Regions from separate parts of the Homo sapiens genome. Here region 2 is linked to region 1. The links are contacts of gene promoters, found by promoter capture Hi-C in human tissues and cell types (Jung and others, 2019). All regions are on one chromosome and are shown on one strand. The core of a region is centred on a gene start or on the middle of the fragment in contact, and the rest is flanking DNA. Distances in the headings are between cores, read along the strand shown. Region 1 holds the start of TOR4A (torsin family 4 member A). Region 2 holds the start of PNPLA7 (patatin like domain 7, lysophospholipase).

Region 1 (6,459 bases), core at 159-2,658:
ATAGCGCTGCGCGTTATCGTCCAGGTTCTCGATAGCGTTGAGAACTTGGAAGCCCACGATGGCGACTAGCAGCAGAAGGCAGCGCTGCGCGCGGCTCCTGTGCTCCACGCGCGGCCGATACTTGCGCGAGGTCTCCGGGTAAAGCACCAGGCGGCTGCGCCGGCGCTTCTTGCGTGGCGTCCTGGAGGGTAGCTCCGCGGGGCTGTCGAAGGTGAAGAACTTTGGCTGGTCCAGGTCCGCGCGCGGTGCCCGGGGGCTGCAGCCCGGCCTGGGCGCCCCGGTCCCGACGTCGGGCCCCCCACCCGGCTGCAGGAGGCGCCGTTTGCGTAGGACACACACCCGGCGGCGCAGGCGGAGCACAGCGCGCACGGGCGCGATCACGCACCGGCCCGAGGCTCGGGGGGCCGCGGCAGCAGGCTCCAGGCTGGGCTGGCCGCGGTCCATGTCGCAGGAACGGCGCTCCGCATACAGGTCGCCCTCCCTGCAACGGGAAGACGGGGAGGGTCTCTGGACTCCCGCCACTGCCCTTTCCCGCGGGCCGCCGGAACCGGTCCCCGGAGTGATCTTACCCCCTGGGAGTCCCGTGGGGTGCGGCCCGGGCTGCCCCAGGGCCAGGGGCCTGGTCGCGGCCTCGCCCCTCAGACCGGCAAGCGACCCCTCCGCCCCTCCGCCCCTCCGCCCCTCCGCAGGGCCCCGATGCAAATCTCTCGGGTCTTCCCATAAACGGCCGCGGGCCTTGAGGAAGTGGCGGGGTAGAGGCTTATCTGGTGGCCGCCCCGGCTTCCTGGAGGAGTCGTCGAAGGAGTCAGTGGCCGCCCAGGCGCCCACTGGGGTGAACAGTCACCCCCGGACCCTGCCCCCGCCCGCGGCTCCCACTGGACTGGGCCGTCTCCCAAGGAGGGGCCGCGGGAAGCAGAGGCCTGAGCGCCCAGGAGTTCAGAGACGCCCCCACACGCTCCAGAACACTTGGCGGGGGTCTGGCTGGAACTTATGATTTTGAGAATAGGCCCGGGCCCCGTCCCCAGGCTCAACCCAGGCCTCCCAGCCCCGACTCCAAAACTGGGGTCCTCCCAACACCCCTCCAGTGAACGAGCTGAGCAGTGCAGGGAGCCCCCCGGAGACTAGTGGAGGTGAAACGAAAAGATGGACAGAAAGAAGAGGCCGGTCGGAGCAAGAGAGCCACTGACTGGCAGGAACTGGGCCCTGGGCCCCAACCCACCCCCTACCTGCAGCTGGTCCACTGCCCTCAGCTCCGCAGGCCCCTGCCTGTGCCAGACGCTGGGGCCTGAGACTCCAAGCAGGAAATGCGCCTCCCAGGGCGAGGGGGTGGGCCAGGGGCCTCCTGGGCCAGCTTCGGCCTGGAGGGGCAGCGACACCTGTGGGTCCCCAGGGAGCGGCCGGCCGGAGTAGAGGAAGCTCTGGGGAGGTTTCCGCTTCTATGCAAAGGAAGTGAGTCAGGGGGTGCGGCCCAGGCGGGACTTGGGCTGGACGGAGGCGCCAAAGGGGGGAGGCCTGGCCGGCTTGCCCAGATCCCCTGGCCGGAGGTCACATTCCCGCTTCAGTTCTCTAGCGCTCAGAGCCCTCCTGGCTTGGTCAGGCTCAGGACACCTGGTGAGGCCGAGGGCCCCTGCTGCATGCTGTGCCCCCACCCTGGGCTCCTGCACCTCAGCCTGTCCTCCAGGGCCCCCACCTCCCCCAGGTTATCCCTTCCACCTGTCACCCCACACACAGGGCTTACAGCTGGGGGGAGGGGCTCCAGGCCCTGTGTAAGCAAGGCGGGAGCAAGGCAGCAGCACAGGGGGCGGGCAGGGTCCTCTGCCGAGCTGCATACCCCCAATCCCTCTCTTATTACTCCTCTCCCCGCTTTTTCATTCCCCTCCTGACCCCAATCGGGGGCCCCCCAAAGTGGGCTCATTGTCTTTCCTTTCCCCCTTCCTCCGTCCCCAGCCTGGAGCCCCCTGCCCAGGACAGGCCAGCACACACAGACGGAAGTTCTATCACGGAAAAAACCACGTGCGGCTCAGGGTCCCTGTGGGGGTTGGGGAACAAATTTAGAAACAACTTGGGCCGGGAGCCAGGAGCTGGAGCTCTGGGCCCTTCCCCCTGCCGGCCTGCCTAAAGGACCCTGGACTCCTCCTACCCTGGCCCAGCCTGGAAGCCGCCTTCCAAGGAGGGGCAAGGTGGCCGCTCCAGCCACACCAGTGCTGCTGGCATTCAGCTCAGGACCCCGCAGTCCCAGGGACGCCCCACTCCTCCCAACAGCCAGCCCGGGCCTGATGGTTCCAGCTGTATATTCCTCACACACTGCACCCAACCAGACAGGCTCCATCAGGGAAACCGGTCGTGGGTTGGGGGTTTCCATTCTCTCCAGGGTATGGGGTCCACCGGACTATCACGCTCCCCTCCAGGAGCCAGGCCTAGGGCTCCCCTCCCCTGTGCAAGGGGTGCTCGGGGGCCCGGATCCCCAATTGTCGAGGCCGCGGGGGCCGCACACACCAGGTGGAATGCTGGTGCTCTTTGGGCCCACTCCCCGGCCTCTGTGGGACCAGAGCGGAAGGAGGTTGGCTGTCCAGGCCCCGTGGCCCCAGCACGGAGGTTGGGGTCCTTTGGGGGCCTCAGGCTTTGAGTCTCGGTGCTTCTTCTGACACAGAGAGGACCCTGGAGGGGAGGCCCTCGGGCAGATGCAGGCTGACCGAGCCCTGGAAAACCTGCAGCAAAGCCTCTGCCCTGCCTCCAAGTGCACCCAGGGCTGGAGCTGCTTCTGCCAGAGGCTGGCCCAGCAAATCCTCAGGCCAGAGCCCTCTGCAGGAAAGGGACTCGCTCAAGGGGTGCCCCAAGACCTGGCCCTATGGGTCAAAGGTGAATCTGAGGCCTGGGCCAAGGCCTCACCCCCTGCACTTTCTCCCATCTACAGGGGTGAAGGGAGCCCCAGAACCCCAGCTCCCAGGGCCATCACCATCTCCTGTGATACCCAGGGCCACCCCCAATCACACCCATTCCCATTCCAGGAGGCCTCCCCTCCCGCCTCCCTACCCAACCCAGCCCTGCCGCTGCGCCCAGAATTCATGTCCATCACCCACAAACACAGTACATGTTCTCAGCCTCTGAAAGGACTTCACCCTCACTGCTTCCCCCAGCCCTTGCCAGCAAGGTTGTTTTCCCCAAACCGTGGGCAGCCTCCCCACTTCTCCTCCCAAATTCCCCATAGGTTTCACTTCACCAGACGATGCCTCCCGTGCCTGGGCCCTCGGTCCTCCCCTACCAAGTCCTTCTCCCTAACTTCCCAGCAGCGTCCACACCCAGTCGCTCAGGCAGCTCTGCTCTTTCTGCCCCTAAAGGCTTTCGCTACAGTAACCATGCGCCCCCGAGGCTCAGCCGTCCACGCACGGTCCCATCCCAGTCCTTGCAATTCACACCCTCCACCTCACCAGTCCCTCACCCACGGGCTCCTCACTCTCTGTCCTTCACTCCCCACCCGTAGGCCTGGCACCCCCTGCAGGCGCCCTGGACAGGACGCGCCCGCTGCCCAGTGACCAAACCAGGCACCCGGGTCCACTCACTGACCATTCCTCCTACAGTCAAGTCCTCTACTCGTCCTCTCCCCTGCCACTTCCCCCTATCCTGCCTCCTAGCCCAAGACCTGAGAAAATGGGAGGCAGCAGCAGTGGACTCCCAGTGTCTCCTCAGCCGTCACCCCAGCATCTGCGCCCATCAGCCCTCCTCTGAGGACACCCCTGCTGTGCTGAGACCCCGGCCACCTGCTCATTCAGTGACAGCCCAGCCCCTGGACCATCCTCCACTCCTCACCCTACTGGGTCATTCCCATCAGCCCAGAAACATCTATTTCTTCTATCTTTAAAAAAAAACCAGGCCGGGCGCGGTGGCTCACGCCTGTAATCTCAGCACTTTGGGAGGCCGAAGCAGGTGGATCACAAGGTCAGAAGATCGAGACCATCCTGGCTAACACAGTGAAACCCCGTCTCTACTAAAAATACAAAAATTAGCCGGGCGTGGCGGCATGTGCCTGTAGTCCCAGATGCTGGGGTGGGGGGGGCGCTGAGGCAGGAGAATGGTGTGAACCCGGGAGGCGGAGCTTGCAGTGAGCCAAGATTGCGCCATTGCACTCCAGACCGGGCGACAGAGCGAGACTCCATCTCAAAAAAAAAAAGCAAAAAAAGCACGCACTCCTGGCCGGAACTGACCTTCATCCCACTCCTTAGTGCCTCTCAGCTGGGTCTCCAGGCCTCTCCTGCTTCCTCAGCTCTCCCTCCAAAGCACTGTTCCTCAGCCCCTCCTCCCTGGGCTGTGGGGCACCCAATCTGCTGCCAGCTGCCACCCCCCCGCCCCAGCTGGCCAGGAAGGCCCGCCCAGAGCACACGGCTGCTCTCCCTCACCTGGGCTGATCTGGCCCAGTCAGTAGCTCAAACACCACTCCCTATGACAGCATCCAGATCCACAACCTGGCCCCAGTCTCTTCTGAGCTCCACAGCCCCAAACCCATTGCATGTGCCTGTCAGACAAGCCCTTCATCTTCCCGTCACAGCCCACCTGGGCAGGTTCAGAGCCCTGGACCCTCCAAGACTCCTCTGCTGCTCACACCTACCCAGAACCTGCGCCCTCCACCCACCAGCCAGGCCAGCCCCAGACACCCAGCCTCACCTGGGTCCCCAGCTCCCAACCAAAGCCCTCAGGCTGGGACTTCTCCGCCTGCCCTGGGGCTCTTGGAGAGACATGACTGGATAAACTGAGGCATGGATCCGGCAGTGTAGACCACAATAAACTGAGGCACAGATCTCCCAGTGTAGACCACAAGCCCCATGCACAGGTGCAACAGAGTCCCAGGCGTCCCTGGCTCTGCCCCAGAGGATACCAGCTCAGAGACTCCCATACCCACGAGATCCCAGCACCATGGGCTTGTCTCACCCAACAGGTCCCAACCTGCTCAGCTGTGGCCTCACACTCCAGGGAGGCGAGCTCGCCAACAGGCGTCTCTGAGGACACGGTGACACCTGGCAGCCAGGCTATCGCCCCTGCATGCTGCGAGCCAAGGACAGTGACACCTGGCAGCCGGGCCATCGCCCCTGCATGCTATGAACTGCTGCCCGGCTTTGAGGTCTCATCTGCTGGAAATGGCCCTGGCTCTGTGCCTGTGACCCATGGCACATCCTGGGCCTCCAGGGCTCCTGTCCCTGGTGTGCACCAGGAGGTGAGAGGTGCCCCCTGGAATCGCAGGACAAAAACAAAGCAGCTGATCTGCGTCTTAGGGGCACCAAAGCCCCGAGGGTGAGGGCTTCCTGCCAACCTCCCTCAGAAATTATTATATCATCCTCCCCCAGAAATTATATCAACCTCCCCCAGAAATTATTATATCCTCCCCCAGAAATTTTATCAACCTCCCCCAGAAATTATTATATCAACCTCCCCCAGAAATTATTATATCGTCCCCAGCTGCTGGTCACAGACAGGGCTGAGCAGTCCAGAGAGGCTGTGGCCCACAAAGCCCCAAGTATTGGCTCCATAGCACAAATGCCTGTGTCCATCTGAGCTACATCCAACCTCAGGGCAGGCACAGAGACATCTCAGCCTCCACGTTTACCAAAATGCCTTTTATTTACATACGAGAAAATCTCACCGTGTGTCCAGCTGGCCCCGTCACGGCCGCTGAAGGCAGCACTGCTGGGCAAGGAGAAACAAGGCCACACCTGCAAACTGGGCTGCAGGGTGAGGTGGCTCCCTCCGCACAGGCCCCAGGACACCCACCATGGCACAGGCCAGGCTGCTGCCCCCACACGGCCTCCACGAGGTCACGGGTCCATCTCCACAACCCCAAGGCAGTAAGCAGTGTGCCTCGCTTTCGCCAAGCTGGGCCAATGAAGAGGCCCCGCCCCCACCCTCAGGCCCCGCCCTCTCCCCTTGGAAAACAGGTGGTTTTTTCCTAACACAGGAAAACAGAAAATGAGCACGCTTTCTATGGCTGCCAAAGTACAAGGAGAGGCTCTGCCCTGGGAGCCACTGCATGGATGGTGGGCAAGGTCCGGGAGCCAGCTCCAAGGAGCAGGAAGCAGGGGGCCATGACGGCAGGACAGGCCCAGCCATAGCCCCGGGAAGAGAGACTGCCCTGTACATCCAGGTCCGGGAGCCTCTTCCGGCTGAGCAGGGCCGCGACTCGGCATGGCCCCAGCACCCGAGCAGGTCTGGAGGGCCCTCAGAGCGGGGCAGGGGCGGGCACGCTGGGGAGGGGCAGCTCCAGGGCCGGCGTCTCCGCAGCCTGTGCCGGGCTGGGCTTCCGGTGATCCAGCTGTTCCAGCTTCTCGCCGAGCTGGGAGTAAAGCTCCTTCACTGCCTCTCCGCTCTGCGGGGAACCACACCATGGGGCAGGCGAGGCGCATGGGCAGGCCCAGGGGGCACAGGGGTGGGTGCCCACCGACCACACACAAGCACCACAAGGGCAGCTTGGCA
Region 2 (2,500 bases), core at 1-2,500, 270 kb before region 1:
CTGGCGGATGAGTGATCGCTCTCAGCGCGGTGGTCCCTGGCGTCTCCACTGCCCGCCACTGCCTGTGTTCGTCCGCCAGGTGGCCGGCGGTTTCCCGGGAGCCCAGTCCCCCTGAGGCCGTGAGGTGGCGTCGGGAGGTCGGGGAGGACGCGGGCCCTGGACTCGAGACGGCCGCCGCGTTGACGCCGCGACCCTGCCTTTCTTACCCCTCCGCCGGGCGCGGCTCCTCTGGGCGGAGCCGGCAACCGCGCGGGGAAAGCCCGGGACCTGCAGCCGGGAGGGCCCGGGCTGTCTGTGCTCCCCCGCAGGCCGGGCAGTGGTGTGGGGGGACTCGAGCCCTCGCGGTGCCCAAATTAATCAATAATCTTGGACCCAGCACGTCCGGCTTGCGCACTGAGCCCTCCTGCCCGGTCACCCTCGCAGGCGACCTCTCACCCCACGCGGAAGTCGCCCCCCAGCCGCACCCTCACAATCCGGATCCACCCCCTCCCCAGCTGCACCCCGTCCCCAGCGGCACCCCCACAGCCCAGATCCATCCCCTCTCCAGCTGCACGCCCTTCCCCAGCGGTACCCCCACACCCCAGATCCATCCCCTCCCCAGCTGCACCCCCTCCCCAGCGGCACCCCCACGCCCCAGATCCACCCCCTCCCCAGCTGCACCCCCTCCCCAGCGGCACCCCCACGCCCCAGATCCACCCCCTCCCCAGCTGCACCCCCTCCCCAGCGGCACCCCCACACCCCAGATCCACCCCCTCCCCAGCTGCACCCCCTCCCTAGCGGTACCCCCACTCGCCGGATCCACGCGCTCCCCAGCTGCACCCTCTCCCCAGCAGTACCCCCACACCCCAGATCCACCCCCTCCCCAGCTGCACCCACTCCCCAGCGGTACCCCTACACGCCGGATCCACCCCCTCCCCAGCTGCACCCACTCCCCAGCGGCACCCCCACACCCCAGATCCACCCCCTCCCCAGCTGCACCCACTCCCCAGCGGTACCCCTACACGCCGGATCCACCCCCTCCCCAGCTGCACCCTCCTCCCCAGCTGCATCCCCACACCCCGGATCCACGCCCCGCCAGCGTCACCTCCCCTCCAGCCGTGCTTCTCCAGAAGGCAGCGCTGCCCCCATCCCCGCCGCGCTGGGCCTGGCTCCTCTTGACCTGCTTGGATACGCCCCATCTGGCTGCTGTTCTGGGTTCCGGGACAGCCACGTGAGGGCTGTTTACAGAGGGAAGGAGGTGGCTCCTAGCAGATGACAGACACTTCTCAAAAGACAGCTTTTCTTCCTGGAGAACAGACTTTTTCAGCAGGATTTTCCTTTCAGTGAAACATAATTTGACTTGAAAGGAACCCAGGGAAAAGTGTCCAGGTGTGAGCATGAGCGGGTAGAGGTGTGCCCTTGTTTGCTTCAGGCTGTCTGCTTTTCGCCCCTGACTGTTTTTTCTGTTTCTGGCCATGGAGGAAGAGAAAGATGACAGCCCACAGGTATGTAACTCGGGGGACCAGATGCCTGGATTTCCCAGTTGGGGGGCATTTCTGGACCCAGAGAAGGGTCCTCTTGGCGTCTGCTCTGCCGCGCTCTTTGGCCCCGTGGCTTCTTGGCGCCTGAGGACTGTGGGAGTGGTGGATCTGGCCCCTCTCTGCTGCCTGTCACAGCTGCCAGCACTTGTTAGACGCGCCTGTCACAGCAGACAGCCAGTGGTGGCCCATGGGCATTGTTCACAGCGAGGGCAGCCAGCGGTGGCCCATGGGCATTGCCTGAGGCCTTGTCTTTTCTTCCCCTAAGGTCACAGTTGCTACTTCCAGTTCCTTTAGGACTTTGCCTGATGGTTTTGCTTAGAACCTTTTTCTGTGTTTTTTTTTTTCCCAAGACGGAGTCTCGCTCTGTCGCCCAGGCTGGTGTGCAATGGTGTGATCTTGGCTCACAGCAACCTCCGCCTCCTGGGTTCAGGCAATTCTGCCTCAGCCTCCCGGGTAGCTGGGACTACAGGCACCACGCCCGGCTAATTTTTGTATTCTTAGTAGAAACGGGGTTTCGCCATGTTGGCCAGGCTGGTCTTGAACTTTTTTTTTTTTTTTTTTTGAGACGGAGTCTTGCTCTGTCGCCCAAGCTGGATTGCAGTGGCACGATCTCAACTCACTGCAAGCTCTGCCTCCCAGGTTCACGCCATTCTCCTGCCTCGGCCTCCCAAGTAGCTGGGACTACAGGCGCCCACCACCACGCCCGGCTAATATTTTTTTGTATTTTCAGTAGAGACGGTGTTTCACTGTGTTAGCCAGGATGGTCTCGATTTCCTGACCTCGTGATCCGCCCGCCTTGGCCTCCCAAAGTGCAGGGATTACAGGCATGAGCCACCGTGCCCGGCCTAGTCTTGAACTCTTGACCTCATGATCTGCCCGCCTCGGCCTCCCAAAGTGCTGGGATTACAGGCGTGAGACACTGTGCCCAGCCCTAGAATCTTTTTCTTAGTCAAACATCTGTAGCCACATGGCAAAGGCCT

What was found. Contacts are between HindIII fragments. The study calls those that stand out against the background at their distance.
Region 2: a contact is called between the fragment with the promoter of PNPLA7 here and the fragment with the promoter of TOR4A in region 1, in 1 of the 25 tissues and cell types used here (mesenchymal stem cells).

What each region holds. Positions count from the first base shown.
Region 1 is chr9:137,272,675-137,279,133 of GRCh38, reverse strand. TOR4A (torsin family 4 member A) reads right to left here and starts at 1,408. Exons shown (of 2, transcript NM_017723.3): 1 at 1,227-1,408; 2 at 1-481. The coding sequence starts at 444. It overlaps NELFB (negative elongation factor complex member B), which reads right to left. Exons shown (of 13, transcript NM_015456.5): 13 at 5,592-6,352. The coding sequence ends at 6,206. RefSeq lists silencers at 848-907, 1,188-1,507 and an enhancer at 4,149-4,328. The HindIII fragment of the contact is 16,896 bases long and covers 1-6,459 here.
Region 2 is chr9:137,549,152-137,551,651 of GRCh38, reverse strand. PNPLA7 (patatin like domain 7, lysophospholipase) reads left to right here and starts at 1,250. Exons shown (of 35, transcript NM_001098537.3): 1 at 1,250-1,484. The coding sequence starts at 1,455. RefSeq lists a silencer at 1-451 and an enhancer at 1,640-2,141. The HindIII fragment of the contact is 18,703 bases long and covers 1-2,500 here.